Regions from separate parts of the Homo sapiens genome. Here region 1 is linked to region 2. Evidence: promoter capture Hi-C in 16 types of primary human blood cells and fetal thymus (Javierre and others, 2016). All regions are on one chromosome and are shown on one strand. Each heading gives the region's core, a stretch centred on a gene start or on the middle of the fragment in contact. The rest is flanking DNA. Distances are from core to core; before and after follow the strand shown.

Evidence for each region. Contacts are between HindIII fragments. The CHiCAGO score rates a contact against its expected background, and 5 or more counts as called.
Region 1: a fragment that was not itself captured here is called in contact with the fragment with the promoter of STAMBPL1 in region 2 in 1 of 17 cell types (fetal thymus); the score reaches 6.1 in fetal thymus.

The regions. Positions count from the first base shown.
Region 1 is chr10:87,858,929-87,861,628 of GRCh38, forward strand. KLLN (killin, p53 regulated DNA replication inhibitor) reads right to left here. Exons shown (of 1, transcript NM_001126049.2): 1 at 230-2,700. Among named protein-coding and RNA genes, the nearest start is that of KLLN, 3.3 kb to the right of the region's middle. The HindIII fragment of the contact is 1,373 bases long and covers 757-2,129 here.
Region 2 is chr10:88,878,913-88,881,743 of GRCh38, forward strand. It overlaps STAMBPL1 (STAM binding protein like 1), which reads left to right and starts at 1,333. Exons shown (of 11, transcript NM_020799.4): 1 at 1,333-1,726. It overlaps LOC124902551, which reads right to left and starts at 1,752. Exons shown (of 1, transcript XM_047426134.1): 1 at 822-1,752. The coding sequence starts at 1,510. The coding sequence ends at 983. RefSeq lists a silencer at 1,222-1,351 and an enhancer at 1,932-2,041. The HindIII fragment of the contact is 2,730 bases long and covers 1-2,275 here.

The sequences.
Region 1 (2,700 bases), core at 193-2,692, 1.0 Mb before region 2:
GACACAGTGAGTACCTGGTCTGCTCTATTGTTCTCAGGAGCAACCAACTCAACCCTTATTTCTCTGAGAATGATGATTTCATACAGCACATCTCTCTACCAAGATGTGAAAGATGACACCATGGCATCTGAAATAGCTTCAGGAGAGATTTGGGACATGGGAAGCTTGTAGACAATAATGGAAAATTCTCTTTTAGAATATAGTTACTTGTATGACCCACAGTAGCGCCTTTTGGAGAATGTCTTAAAATTATCTTTATTGAAAGAACAATAATGTTTGTTATTAGGATAAATGAAATAAGGGGAAAACCTCAGACCCTTGGAACAATGGGTTTACATTCAATCCAATGATTATTATGTTTTTATATTCTGTATTATTTAGAAAACAGTAGTTAAACAGACAGAAATACAGAAGATTGTTTAAAAATTAAAGCTATTGAGTTAGATCCCTTTTTGAAAGGTCAGCGTATGGGAGATGAGAAAGGCACTATAGAGATCAGAGTGTTTACACAAAAGACATCTTAGCAGATGACCTACAAAGAGCACATCAAGTATTTATATCATCCACATCAAGTTGCTGGTCATTTCGCTTATCAAAGAAAATAAGAAAGAAATTTTCTTTCGACATTATTTTGGTGTAGTAACAATAGAGTTTTGGAATCAGCTGTTAGAAGCGATAATTAAAGCTAGTTTACCATGCTTACTAATCAATCTACATAGTCACCCTGAAGCTTTATATAATTGTCCCTTTGTTACAAGCTTCTACTTCTCCCTATGGTATTCTGGTTCTGAATCCAGACAGGTAAAGAACTAAGTATGGCCGGGCGCGGTGGCTCACGCCTGTAATCCCAGCACTTTGGGAGGCCGTGGCGGGCAGATCACGAGGTCAGGAGATCGAGACCATCCTGACCAACATGGTGAAACCCTGTCTTTACTAAACTACAAAAAATTAGCCCGGCATGATGGTGTGCGCCTGTAGTCCCAGCTACTCGGGAGGCTGAGGCAGGGGAATTGCTTGAACCTGGGAGGCAGAGGTTGCAGTGAACCGAGATCATGCCACTGCACTCCAGCCTGTGAGACTCCGTCTCAAAAAAAAAAAAAAAAAAAGAAAAAAAAAAAAAGAACTGAAGTGCTTGGAGACCAGTGTATTGTAATATCTATACAGCCAAGCAGGTATTTTCAACTGAACTTTAAAAAAGTACTATTTTTGAAACTTTCTTTAGTTTAGATAGGGCCAGCCATTTGGGTAGAAAGGAAAAGAAAAACAAAAAATTGGAAAAGGATGCATCAGTATTTCTTTCAGAAACAACTTAACACTAGGAACAGAAGGAGGATTTTATTCACCAACTCCTAATAACCACCTGATGTTGCTGTTGGGCTGGCCAAATATCTGCCAACATTGATGATCCTTTCATTCACCACTAGAGAGAAGTAGAGGGACCTGATGTTTAGAGAAGCAGTAAAACCCATTTCCCATTTTCTTTCTTCAGCCGGATGGAAGTACTTGGAGGCTGGTCTCATATTCTAGCACTTTAGTGCTGGTGATGCAGATTATCTCTGCTCCAGAGTAACTCTGTGCCATGGAATCCAAGAGGATTCTGTCGCACCAGGACAGGAATGCACCCTTGTTTCATTTGCTTCCATGAAAGCAGATTTCAGAGATTCTCAGATGCTATGAGACTAATTGTCACTTAGGGTAGGCTCCAGGGGAGGGACAGAGAAGGGCAGTGCTAATAACAGGGACTCTGGAGACAAGATCAGCAATCTAAGAAACAAATGTGAGACATTTTACCCCTCCCTAATCTACTCCCCTTTTAAAAGTTCATCTTCATTTTCCCTTTTTCTACCACGCAGTAATTGATAATTAAACACAGCTCTGGTTTTTACCATGCAATCTAGTAGAACACCTAGACATCAGGAACTCCTTATCTTTGGTTATTTATACAATAATGAAATCTGTAGTTCACGCTAGGCTGTGTGGACAGTATCTGCATCTCTGGAAATCAACTGGAGGCCTTTCTCTTACTCTTTTCCGGTTGCTTTCCATTTCCTTTTCCACTGTGGTCCTTGCCTTTCCCAAGCTGACCAGAACTATGCACAAAACCAGTCTTCAATAAATATCAACACTGAAGCTTCAGCAGGTTGTTAACTCCTGCACAGCTATCTTAAATGCTGTATATAAGTGCAAAGTTTTATGGAGCCTCAGAGGTCTCTAAGAACACTGTAAATATCCCAGGTTTAATTAGTAGTCCCGGAGTTAGGTAATGGCCTGTGGCTTTCTGCGCTAGGTCTCTTGAGGTTTCTAGTCTTCAGAGGTTGCCTGCAACTATGATGTGCACATATACAGTACTCTTTCTCAAATACAGCATAAACCCTCTTTAGACTTTGCTAGGCACTTACAATTATTGAACACACATGCAGATTGATTCTCATTCTCTCAAAGTTTGAAAAACAACTCAGTGCTTCAACCTAGGTCTCGTTAGATATTTTTTGACTCAAATTGTCGTCTGTAGTTCTACTTCCTAAGGGAAATGAAAAAACAATAAATTCCCAGACTGGTGTTGATGCTCATTCTCTTTAAGCGGGTCGACTACTTGCTTTGTAGATCCTTGACGGGTGGGGTGCGGGGTAGGAGTGCGATCCAACTCTCAGCATTTCCGAATCAGCTCTCTCACGGTGACAGGTCAGCCCAATCGGGGCT
Region 2 (2,831 bases), core at 83-2,582:
AAATGCCTACCATATTCTCAAATGTCAGTGAGGTGGGGGTGTATGGGAGTGGTGGGGACTGTGGAAAACTGAAGAGTGTCTTCACAGTCTAAAGGCGACACCTGCTATTCAGCTTCAGCTGATGGTTGCTAGAACTCGCCATGGACCAAATGTCTGATGTTACGATTTTACAGAAAATGTGAAAAGTCTGAATTTCTGTGAAATTTCCTAACTTCAACATTTGGAACCAACTTAAAACTAAGCAAAACAACACTGTTGCTTCTTAAAAATCAAGGCTGCAGGCTGCCTCCAACAATCAAACTCTTCATTTAAAAAAAAAAAAAGAATCCAGGGAGATGAGGCTTAAGAAGGTGAAATGCTTGAGACCAAATAACTCAGTTGGTGGCTGAGCCAGGGCTAGAATTTTGGTTTCCAGAGGAAAGGCTAACTAAGAAAAGCCAGTGTTTCCCCACCCCACTCTGCAGCCATTTCTCTCACTTGGAAGTAAGCTCCCAACCAAGCTCAAGAAAAGCGACTCTATTTCATCCAGCAGCAGCAGTCTCCATAAAATGTTTATCAGTTAATAGAACCTGTGAAGCCAATAGAAACAGCTTTCAGTGTTGGATCAGAGTTTAAATTTCAGCTTCTACTGCTTTCTAGGTGAGTAACCTGGGATAAATTATTTTACTTCTCTGTCTCTCGTTCATGGAAAAAACAAAAACAAAAACAAAAAATGAGTCCCTTTTATATACAGGGTTGTGGCAGATGGACTAAGATTTTGTGTACCGACTGCCTGACACAGTGCCAGAACTGTAGTAAGAACACCACACGTGATAGTAACATAACATCCAGGAGATATTCTAATACTTCTTATTTTCCAAGTACACACAAATTGGGGGTAGGGGGAAGGGCTAAGATGCTTAATAGTGGGCGTAGCCAGTTGTGGATAAATATCAAAAAGGGAATCCTAACATGAAGTATAAGTGGGATTTTCACCAAAACCCTATCCTTCCCCAGACTCCAGTGACAGTTTAACGGTCAGCTGCATCAAGGCTTGTGTACTGTGCAGTCTTAAAAGGCACCACTCCTGTCCATCTCGGTGAAATTGATGGTGGAGCAAAAGGGAGTTTAGGTGGTTCCGGTCTGGGGAGAAGACGTGCAGGGTTTCAGATGCGAAAGTCGCACCCAACCGCTTCACTCGGGCTCTAGGCCATCCGCAGGGGCCCTGCTTCCTTCCACCTGCGAGCTTTTTCTGCAGAATGCGGGAAGCCGCCGCCGCCGCCACAGAGGAGGGGGCGGAGGCAGAGGCGGAGGCGGCACCCAGGGGCCGGGGCAGGGGAGGCCGGGACCATCGCAGTGACAATTTATTTTCCTGCAGCAGCGGCAGCAGGGACGGTTGCTGCAGGTTCGGGGTCGGCCGGCCTGCGCGTGGGCTTGCGAGGACGCTGTTCGTCCCCTGCGCTGGGGTGTCCGACAGCGAGGAGGAGAACGACGCACGGAGCCCGCGCGACTGGAACCAGCAAAGCTCCATCTGTCGGCAGAGGAGAAGGGGGAGGAGGCACGGCCGAGGCAAACGAGCGGACGCCTCGTCGCCGGGTGCCGGTATCACCCCGCTGCAACGCCTTCCAGCAAAAGCCACCGCGGCCCGGGTTGCAGCAGCCGGACGGATGCCAAGGCCACACGGCAGCCACGGGGGCAGCCGTCGCAGTCGCCGTCCCACACGGGCTGCGGACACCAAGGGTTGCTAGTGAGTAGCGGCGCGCGCGCGTGAGTGAGAGCGCGCACCGGACGGGGAAGTGCGCACGGCGGGTGCGTCTGCCTCGTGGCCTGGCGCGCGCCGGCCCTTCCGCTGGCAGCGTCCGGTCCCGGGCTGGCTCTAGGGGAGGAAAAAATGCACTTTGGCGGCTGATCGCTTCCTTCCTGCCAGTCATGCAATCGGCCGCCTCCATCGGCGCCGCCTGTATGCGCCCCTCCGCTGGGCCCTCTGGGTTAGTTTCACCTTGATAGGGAGGCAGGAAGACCTGGCTGCTGGTGGCAGGGCGGGACTCTGGCCGTGACCTATACGTGGGTGCGCCTGTTTTTTTGGTTCAGCCCTGGGTTGCAGCCTTGGAGATGATGTCGACCTTGGGAGAGACCACTGCACTGTCTCTAGCGGCGCGGTGTGGAGGAGGGAGGGGCGAGGGTTAGAAAAACGGACCTTTACCCCGGCCGAGCAGGTGCCATGCCTTTCCAGATGATGTTACTTTTATGCCCTTTATGAGCGACTAAGACATTGCCCCTCACCTGAATAACTTAAAGCTTTCGCTGAAAGCCCCCAGTGAGATGCACAAAGAAATGGAATGTCTCCAAAACATATTTTTTTCAGAACTTTCTCTAAAACAACCCACGCTGCTGATACCCCCAGAGCCTAAGGTGCCATAATTGCTGAAGTTTAAAAGAAAATTTATGTAAGGAATAAGTAATTCAGGAAACGGAACCCAATCTAGAGGTTTGAAAAAAAAAATCAAGTGCCTGGGAAGTGGGGTGGGGTGGCTTGCTTCCTGGAAATCAGTGTTCGGTAGTAAGTAAAAAAGACAGCTTTCAAAGTAAGCCCCAGTGAGCACACTGCTTTCCAAACATCTTGCTCATTACTGACAATAACATGAAGTCCTGGATTTTAAGCTATTTCCGAAGACATAATAGATATCACTAGGATGCTTGTTTATGGTCTCATGATTTAAGGCCCTGTCAAGGTCAATAACGTAGATTTGTTCCAGCAGATAAATTATACCTGAATGTTTGATTGTTCGTGTCAATTTTTTTGAGGGTAGGTTTTGACGGTTGTTTTACACAGAAATTAAGCCACCGTGTTT